3 separate regions of the Homo sapiens genome follow, and regions 1 and 2 are each linked to region 3. The links are contacts of gene promoters, found by promoter capture Hi-C in blood cells and fetal thymus (Javierre and others, 2016). All regions are on one chromosome and are shown on one strand. The core of a region is centred on a gene start or on the middle of the fragment in contact, and the rest is flanking DNA. Distances in the headings are between cores, read along the strand shown.

Region 1 (3,272 bases), core at 301-2,800, 150 kb after region 3:
GGGAAAGACCAATTTGGTTATGCCTACTATCACCACACATAGTGATAAATATAATTTTCCCACTTTGAACTTTCACAGTTCCCTGTGAACTTGTGTTTACGGGATGCTTATGACGAAGACAAAGGAAGTCAGAATTGCTTCCTCTATGAAAAGGTAGGAATAGGGAGAAGCAGGAAATATGCAAGAACTGAGATTCTAAGAAAAAAAAAGTTTTTGTAATATTATAGTTAGTGATAGAAAACAAGGGAAAGCAGAAGTGATGCTTTTGCATTACAGATTTGAGAGACAAAATATAATCCTGGAAAATAAAGCCTTGCCTGGTCAGAGGTTCTGACCAGGTTTTGAAGTTCTTTGATAGAGAGTTGCCAGGAACAGAGCAAAGGCTATGGAATTACAGAGAGAGAATGCTTCCACTGGGAGGTCAGTAAACAGCTGTCCCTCTAAGTAAGTCACTCCCACACCCTCTTAGCATTTGTGATAGGCATAATAATGGCACCCCAAAGACATCCATATTCTAATTCCAGGAATCTGTGAATATGTTACTTTACATGGCTAAAGGAATTTTGCTGATGTGATTAAATTAAGGACCCTGAGATGGATTATGCAGTTGGGCCCATTGTAATCACAAGGATCCTTATAAAGGAAAAAGGAGACAAATGTTTCAGATTTAGAGTGATTCAGTGTGAAAAAGACTCAACTGGACATTGTTGGTTTTGAAGATGCAAGGCAAGGAAAGTGGGCAGTCTCTAAAAGCAGGAAAAGAGAGAGAGGGAAAAAAAGGATTCTCCCCTAGAGCCTCCAGAAAGGAATGTCTCCCTGCAGACACCTTGTTTTAAACCCAGTGAGACCCATGTTGGACTTCTGATCTCTAGAACTGTAGTATAATACATGTGTGTTGTTTTAAGCCGCTAAGTGCGTGATAATTTGGTAAAGAAGCAATAGAAAATTAATACAGCATTTATGATGTTTCCCCCTCTGTAAGCCATGTTGAGTACTTTCATTAAGTGGCCCAATCTTTTCCAGTTTAAATAGCATACAGTTGGCTTCTTTTGTTAGTAGAGGCTAGGGCCTTGTATCTGTTTAGAGGCAAGCTTATTATATGGGTGTGACTATACTACTGAAATGCACAGCGGTTCCAAACAAAACAAACTGGTAATAGACACTAGGTAAAGGATATATGCAAACTAAAATGCAAAAGGAGCAGAGATGTTAGAGGATTTTTCAGCTGGTAGATTTTCTCATCCTTTTTGTTTTTCATTAATTAGTCTAACAGGTACTGACAGCTAATCTCCTTGAAAAGCCCCATGGCCAAAAAGCCAAGGGAATGAGTATGCCATTTGAGGACTGAACACACATTGAATTATTGGGCAGGAGACTGAGATGTCTTGATTCCTAGAGATGTTCCCCACATACAGACTGAAACTTAAAATTTGGGTCATCTATGCCCATGTGGGTTTAGATGTTAGAGAGAACAGCAAAGAACAGCTCCAGGCAAGAATGTCCAGGCATTAAGAATCTGTTTGCTAAGGGTTTTGTGATAAGATTATGTATGTCATCTTGGCATGATAGGTAAATCACCCAAAATTTGTAAAATTTTTGCGGAAAAATAGCCCTGGAATTCAAGATTTCTCCCAGCAATACTAATCTAAGCAGTTCAATGAAGATTCTTTATCGCTTTTCTCATGTAAAGCATCACATTTCTTCCTCCTGGAACTATGAGGATACTGGGGTGGGGTTGGGTAGTGCCATTCATCCAGCCTCTGTCAGGGAAGCATAAGTACTTTTTGAGCAAAGCAAAGGTTCTTATTTCATACAGCCCGGACAGAGGGCTACCCATTCATACAGCCTTTGTACGGGAAGCAAAAGTGCTTTCTGAGCAAAGCAAAGGTTGTTATTTCAGGAGGGGTGAACAGATATTTTTTGTTTTCCCCTTTCAACTAATGACCAATTACATCATCACAAATTGTTTATCGAACACCTTTGTTGTTTGTATTAAGTATTAAGCTTAAAATAGGAGAAAGTCACATGCTGTTATCCAGGAAATGACGTTTTATTAACTTTGCCATTGTTATTATACATTGTCAGGAACCCATTCATAGGTTAGGTTATTGTGAAGAGAAGGAAATCAAGATAAATATACAGCTCATGCAGATGAAAAACATATTTCTACATGGATTAGCTAGTACTTGAAAAAAAAGTGAAGTTTGGCATATAAATTTTACATGATTGTCTAAATTTTCTATTGTTCTCCAAAGCAGCCTTGACTCAACCAAACCAAAGCAAAGCAAACCAAACCAAACAAAATAAAGCTGCCTAAAAATTAGGTGATTGTCTATGATGATCTGCCTCAAAGTGAAGTTTCTTTTATTGTTTCTGAGAAGCATGTAATTGTTGGTGGGTTGACTAATGAGAAATAAAAGATTATTCTCAACTCCAAATTTAACTACATTGTCATATATGTGAAAGGCACAACTTTATGAAATCACTGGGTTTTAATAGAAAGAAGTATTTCGAGATGGTGGAAAATTTCCCTAGGAAATTTTAATTCTTTCTCACTTACTGTTTTAAAGTGCTGGATTCATGAAAGAGAAAAGAATGCTCTTTGAAATCTTATTAGTCTTACTGTGGTAGTCTCCTGGGAAGTAACTGTGATAATTCTATCAGGAGTGGTGCAGAAAAATGGCCTGTGCTACTTCGCAGTTGGAAAAAACCAACGTCATGCTCTCTGGCATTATACAGGATCACAAGAAAAGTAATGGTCGTCTAACTTCTACGTAAAAATAACATCAGTAACTGTAAGTTTGCTTAGGCATTTGTGAGCAATGAGTAGTGATTATGACCTAAAATAAACTTCTGTTTTGGTCATTTACCCAACACAGAATTGACCTTACTTAACAGACTTACCTTACTTACCAGATTTTTATTATTGGCTACTGGACAGCTACATGAAGATAATTCTTTGTCTGCTCACACTCAATAAATTCAAAAACTTATTCGTCTGTCTCCTTTGCTTTTCTACAAACTCTAAACACTCTCTCTCTCTCTCTCTCTCTCTCTCAGTTCCACCTCTTCACTTTAGTGTTTCTGTTCACATCACCATTTTTGAGGTCACCAAGTTCAAAACCTTTGTATTATTTTGGACCAATCGTGTTTTCCTGCTCATTTGGAAATTTTATGTTTTCAGATGATGGAAAGAAAAAGAGAAAGAAAAGAAAAGTAAGGATGAAAACAACTGGAAGGCAAATGTGTAGGACTATTTCCCTTCCTCACAA
Region 2 (3,182 bases), core at 652-3,151, 190 kb after region 3:
TTTATTATTTATCTATAATTTATCTGGACTACATCTTGAATTCTGTCCTGACTACAAGTCTCCAAACTAATGTTTTAAAATTATTTTTCTCCCATTTTTCTAACTTGGAATCACTAGAAATTAAAACCATGCTTTTCTTAAAACCCTGCAAACTGAAGCTAGACAACTTGAACTTTGGAAGAAATAACAGCAATTTCATGCCTGACTACTGATGTACAGACTTCTTGTAATATAGCCTGAATCTGTTTTCCAAGATTGCTTTCCCTTTGTTTCTGTAATCTGGTCTTGGTAGCCCCCTTTTTCTCTTTTTTCCCTTTCATTCTTTCTTCCTTCCCCTTTTTCGCTCCTTGGGACAGAAAACTTGACAACCTCCTAGAAATGAGCCTTCCTAGTAACGTGGAACCTAACCTCATAGGAATAAGCTATCTAGCAACAAGGGATCACAAAAAACCCATAACCAGAGACTAATATTCTTCTACAATGCTTTCTCCAAAAGATTTTGAACAATTGGGGAAAATGTGGAAGAAAATAAAATCTCAGGATCCTGAACTCACTATGCTAAAGGGAAAGTTGAGTTTGGGAACTAAGTGAAACAAGAGACTACCTTCCTTTTTTTTCCCAAATAGATTACTGTAATTTCACATGCTTATGTTATGTAGAATGTAGATTTACTGAGCATGAAATGAATGCATAATTGACTTTGTCCCACTCCCTCCTCTTCACATGTAAAACAGACTCACTGAGTGCTAATTACTACCCTCCTTCCTGTTTTTTTCTTCCCCTTCTGCTTCCTCTTTCCTCTTTAAACATTGACATTCCCAAAATCCTCTCTGAAAAAAAGCACAGGGCACAGATCCTACTGTGACTTGTGTTTGTTTTTCCCGGGCACATCCTCAACCGTGGCAAAATGAATCTCAAAATCAATCAAGATCTGCCTTAATTACTTTTTTTACTTACACAGTATAAGCTTAATAATAAAGCTTAATAAAAATATTTCAAGAAAAAAGAATTGCAGACCAGTATCTTTCCTGGGCTTTGATCCTAAAATAAATATTGGATAATCAAATTAACCAATACGTTATAAAAGGATACACAGTAATTATCACTAAGGTTTCCTTCTCTCCAGTAATGCAAGGATGATTTAATATTCACAAATCAATCAATTTAAATCACCATTGACATGGTTAGGCTTTGTGTCCCCACCCAAATCTCATCTTGAATTGTAATCCCCAGGTGCTGAGGGAGAGAACTGGTGGGAAGTGATTGGATCATTAGGGCAGTTCCTCCCATGCTGTTCTCATGATAGTGAGCGAGTTCTCACAAGATCTGATGGTTGTATAAGTGTTTGATAGCTTCTCTCTTGCTCAGTCACTTCTCTCTCCTGCCACCATCTGAAGAAGGTCCTCCTTTCCTCTTTGCCTCTCACCATGATCATAAGTTTCCTGAAGCCTCCCCAGCCATGTGGAACCGTGAGTCAATTAAACCTCTTTCCTTTATAAATTACCTAGGCTCTGGTATTTCTTTATAGCAGTGTGAGAATGGACTAACACAGCCATATTAACAGAAAAAGTGAGAAAAATAATGTGATTAATAGATTCAGAAAAAAGCATTTAATATGTTTCTATACCTATTTATGAATGAATAATAGCTAGCTAGGAATATAAGAGAATTTCCTTTATATAATGAAAGATAACTACAACAAACCTTCAGCTAACATTACACTTAATGGTGAAACTGTTAATGCTTTTCCTTTGAGCTCAGTAACAAGACAAAAATTCCCACCACTCTCAGTCCTTCTCTCCAATGGTTGACTGGAGATCCTAGCTTGGACAATAAGCCATGAGAAAGAAATAAAATGAATAAAGATGGGAATGCATTAAATCAGTCTTTATTTCCAGGTGACATGATTTTGTACTTAAAGAATTAGAAAAATTTACAGAGAAATTATTACAATTAACAAGTCAATTCAGCAAGAACCTGGATTCAAGGTCAATATTCCAAAATAGATAAGATGTCCAGTTTCAGTTTTAACATACAAAGAGCTTGGAATTCATCATCTCATCCTAACACAAGAAAAAAGCTGAACAAACTGAAAATCAATGGTCTTTATTAGACTCTTCAGAGAATTAAAGGCACAGGGAAAACTACAACCCTGAAATCAGCAGAGACGTGAATAGAAAGGCACTGAGATCAGCTTACTCGGAATGAAAGTCACTGGTGTTATAAAATGGTAGGGACATATCAATGATAATTTTGATGGACTGCCAGAGGCTTCATGTGAATCAGCTTGAGAGTGATAAACTCTTCAGAGCTGCAGTCTTAGAGAGACCCCACAATTCCATAGGTTTCACCTCCAGGAACCTTATCAGCTTTTCATAGTAAAGAGCCAAGAAAAATCACTTCATATGTTTAAAAACAGAAGAGGAAATGTAACCATTTTTAAATAAGCCCAGTGCATTTTTCATTAAAAAAAAAAAAACCTACTTTCTAGGAAAAAAAGAAAAAAAAAGATATATATAACCAGAACCTTATCTTATGTAGATGGAAGGAAAATGACCTAACTCCAGTCATTTCTTGCTTTCCTGTCTCATCTAAAGTGGTAAGCGAGAGAAAAATAAGTAAGAAAATGTATGAAGGTCATAAGTGTTGTGGGATTCAGGAGAATGAGAGAGAGACCTAGAGTTGAAACAGGAGAATCTTTTATTGAGTGCACTCAGGCCCAGCTGACTCAACGTCCAAAAGACTGGGCCCAGAACGAAGACAGCACTTGACTTTTATACACACTTCACAAAAGAAGGTGGGCTAGCTTGAAGTAAGCTTACAGTGGCATGAAAGCAGGGATACAGAGGCAGGACAAAGATGGTTAATCAAATTGTAACAGGTTCATAACTCAGGATTACACATAACCATTGCTATGCAACCCAGATGTCCATTATCTGGGTTTGCCTAGGCACAGGCGTATCCTATAACCTTCACTATGGCGCCCAGGTGACTGTAACTGAGATCTGCTCAGACGCTCATGACCTTCACTCTACTGCTTAGATAAAACAGATTACTTGAAGTCACTAGTTACAGAGAACAGGAATCTGTGAACTCATTCCATAAAACAAAGGAAAATTTGTTTTTCTTCTCCTTATGTTGAGAGAGTGCTGGGAGAGTCTCCAGAGCACATTAGATAATAT
Region 3 (2,976 bases), core at 90-2,589:
CTGCCTTAATATTTCCCAGGATGTTTATTTGATTAGTAACAGAAATTCTAAAAGGCTATGTGTACCCTCTCTGTATTATACTATATTATAAGACCAACACTAAAGGTGGATGTGAGGAAGTCGTAATACTGATTGAACGAGTTCTTTAAAATCAGCAATAGCAACTCATTCATCATTCATCTCCAACCATAGCACATTGTCTATTTGACTCAATAAATACATGATAACTGTTTTTTAATTTTAATTTACCCTTGGCAACTCAACTGGGAGCTCTGAATTAAGTATTGCCCATCAGTTTCCCATGTCAGGTCAAAATGTCCAGCAATCTATACACTTTCCTTGCTCTTAAAACTTTCCTTGAACTTAAAACTATTGAAGTTTGGCCTTGGAATAAAATCATCAGTCTCTGAGGAAAAAACTTATATAATCGACTTCTGTCAATGATCACTAATGCCACAAATCTAGATCTCTCATTTGGAGTCTCAAATGGCAGATGAATTTGATTAGCTCCTATGACTATAAGCTAAGCTAATTATTACAAGTGGATGTGGAGAAAACAGTCCTATGGTGGCCTGTGCTATCTGATCTTGAACTTTTCCATTTCTTCCTTTACTGTTTCTATTCTACTTCATCGAGACAACAACTGCATGAAGAATGTTTAAAATGGAAATTTCCTTTAATTGATATTCAAGATCTCCTTTAGATTAGAACTTTATTATCTAGAGAGAACATGTAGCCAATATTAATGATGATCTTGTTCCATTGATATGTATCCACAGATTAAAGACGGCTGCTCTTCCTTCTTCTGTTGAGGAAGTGCTTCCTGTCACTCATTTTCTCCATAACCTGAGATAAATCTTCACTGGTTTAATGACAATAAGCATCCTCATCTTACCGTGACATGTACAGGAAAAAAAAGAAACCTAAAATCTTTTACATAAAAGAAGTTTCATAATCACAAGCTATCACAAAGGGGAAAATGTATACTTACCATTGATAGTTTTACCATAAATTTCCTGACCTTAATTTGATTAAAATCTCAACTTAAAGACTGCAACAATACAGATTTCTTTAAAGTTTAATTGCTCATTTCACTGAACATTGAGTGCAGGAAAAACCTCAACCTGGGGCAAAAACGTGGTAGAGCGGAAGGAGAAGTTAAGGACTGAGCTGCTTTGCAGATCACAGTGTTTGAAAGTGAACAGCCAACCTGACAAGAAGCAAAAACCACAGAACAGAGTACCACATCGTCTTTCTGTTCACTTTTTTTCACAAAATCATCCAGGCTCTTCCTACTCTCCTCTCTTACCACCTCTCTCTTCTTTTTTTTTTTTTTTTAGTTATTTCACAGATGCCACTGGGGTAGGTAAACTGACCCAACTCTGCAGCACTCAGAAGACGAAGCAAAGCCTTCTACTTGAGCAGTTTTTCCATCACTGATATGTGCAGGAAATGAAGACATTGCCTGCCATGCTTGGAACTGGGAAATTATTTTGGGTCTTCTTCTTAATCCCATATCTGGACATCTGGAACATCCATGGTAAGGCACCTGCTTAGGTTATTTCTGGTTTTATTTCTCAGGGGGTCTTGGAGGCAACATTCTCCCTTGCTGAACTTAGTACGGTGTAACGTTTATACGAAGTGGGTAATCGTAGATGAAACCAAGCTGTTACATTTGCTTACCGAAGACATCGTAGAGCATAAACCAAATTAGAACATAGTATTCACCTGCCTAATCATAGGCATCGCATCAATAGCTTGGCTGACTTTCTTAAAAACATGTTGATGGTAGGAAAAGAGAACTGAGTAGATGTTATAAATAGTTAAGTACAAATCTATCACTACTTCTTGCAAAAATGCTCTGGCTGCCATACTGATAATGAATAGATAGCTCGTTCTTTCCAAACTGAGTGCAGTAGAGTGCTGCAGTGCTCAGTTGGGTAGGACAGTTGTTGGATAATCGGAATTATACATATCTCCATGGTTACCCTCAAATAATATTACCTCTAAATAAAATCTCTATACTTGCTTCATTGGGATGTATGCCTTGAGAATACCGATTGAGAAAATGCTACAAAATATAGGAGCAGAACTTTTCGTCATTGCTTCTATTTTGTTGAAAGGGAATGGTTCCTACTTGGTTGTCAATTGAACACAGAAAATAAGTTGGATTCTGCAAAGATGATATTTAGCCACCCCTGCAAAGACTTTATACAGGCAAAAAAAAAAAAAAAAAAAAAAAGGCAATTTCTTTTTTATTGTAAAGTCGCTTCCTACCTTATATTGCATAGGAACCCACATATTATCAAGAGGAAAAGCCTATGAGTGGCTCATCAGAAGCTTCTGATTTTTCAGGTTTTATTTTTTTATTTTTTTGAGACAAGAGTTTTGCTCTCGTCACCCAGGCTGGAGTGCAATGGCGTGATCCCGCCTCACTGCATCCTCTGCCTCCCGGGTTCAATCGATTCTTCTTCCTCCCGGGTTCAATTTATTCTCCTGCCTCAGCGTCCCTAGTAGCTGGGATTACAGGCACCTTCCACCACGCACAGCTAATTTTTGTATTTTTAGTAGAGATGTTGGATAACCCCAATTATCCAACATCTGTCCTACCCAACTGAGCACTGCAACACTCTACTGCACTCAGTTTGGGAAGAACGAGCTATCTATTCATCATCAGTGTGGCAGCCTGAGCATTTTCGCAAGAAGTAGTGATAGATTTGTACTTAACTATTTATAACATCTACTCAGTTCTCTTTTCTTGCCATCAACCTGTTTTTTAAGAAAGTCAGCCAAGCTATGGATGCAATGCATGTTGGGCAGGCTGGTCTGGAGCTCCTGACCTCAAGTGATCCACCTGCCTCAGCCTCCCAAAGTGCTAGGATTACAGGTATGAGCCACCATGCCCAGTGATTTTTCAGGTTTTAAATATTCTGTCTTATTATTCCCTACAAGCACACATTTATCAGTTTGGCTACT

The links. The method cuts DNA at HindIII sites, captures the fragments that hold promoters and counts their contacts. A CHiCAGO score of 5 or more calls a contact.
Region 1: a contact is called between a fragment that was not itself captured here and the fragment with the promoter of BTLA in region 3, in 14 of 17 cell types (total B cells, activated CD4 T cells, naive B cells and 11 more). The highest score is 14.5, in total B cells.
Region 2: a contact is called between a fragment that was not itself captured here and the fragment with the promoter of BTLA in region 3, in 7 of 17 cell types (total B cells, naive B cells, naive CD4 T cells and 4 more). The highest score is 8.3, in total B cells.

The regions. Positions count from the first base shown.
Region 1 is chr3:112,352,327-112,355,598 of GRCh38, reverse strand. The region is part of intron 5 of CD200 (CD200 molecule); the gene reads right to left. Among named protein-coding and RNA genes, the nearest start is that of CD200, 21 kb to the right of the region's middle. RefSeq lists an enhancer at 211-840. The HindIII fragment of the contact is 913 bases long and covers 1,094-2,006 here.
Region 2 is chr3:112,312,397-112,315,578 of GRCh38, reverse strand. All of the region lies in intron 1 of LOC105374042 (a long non-coding RNA gene), which reads right to left. Among named protein-coding and RNA genes, the nearest start is that of CD200, 19 kb to the left of the region's middle. The HindIII fragment of the contact is 1,837 bases long and covers 983-2,819 here.
Region 3 is chr3:112,497,835-112,500,810 of GRCh38, reverse strand. It overlaps BTLA (B and T lymphocyte associated), which reads left to right and starts at 1,339. Exons shown (of 5, transcript NM_181780.4): 1 at 1,339-1,540. The coding sequence starts at 1,453. RefSeq lists enhancers at 1,618-1,747, 1,838-1,887, 2,756-2,875. The HindIII fragment of the contact is 2,386 bases long and covers 1-2,342 here.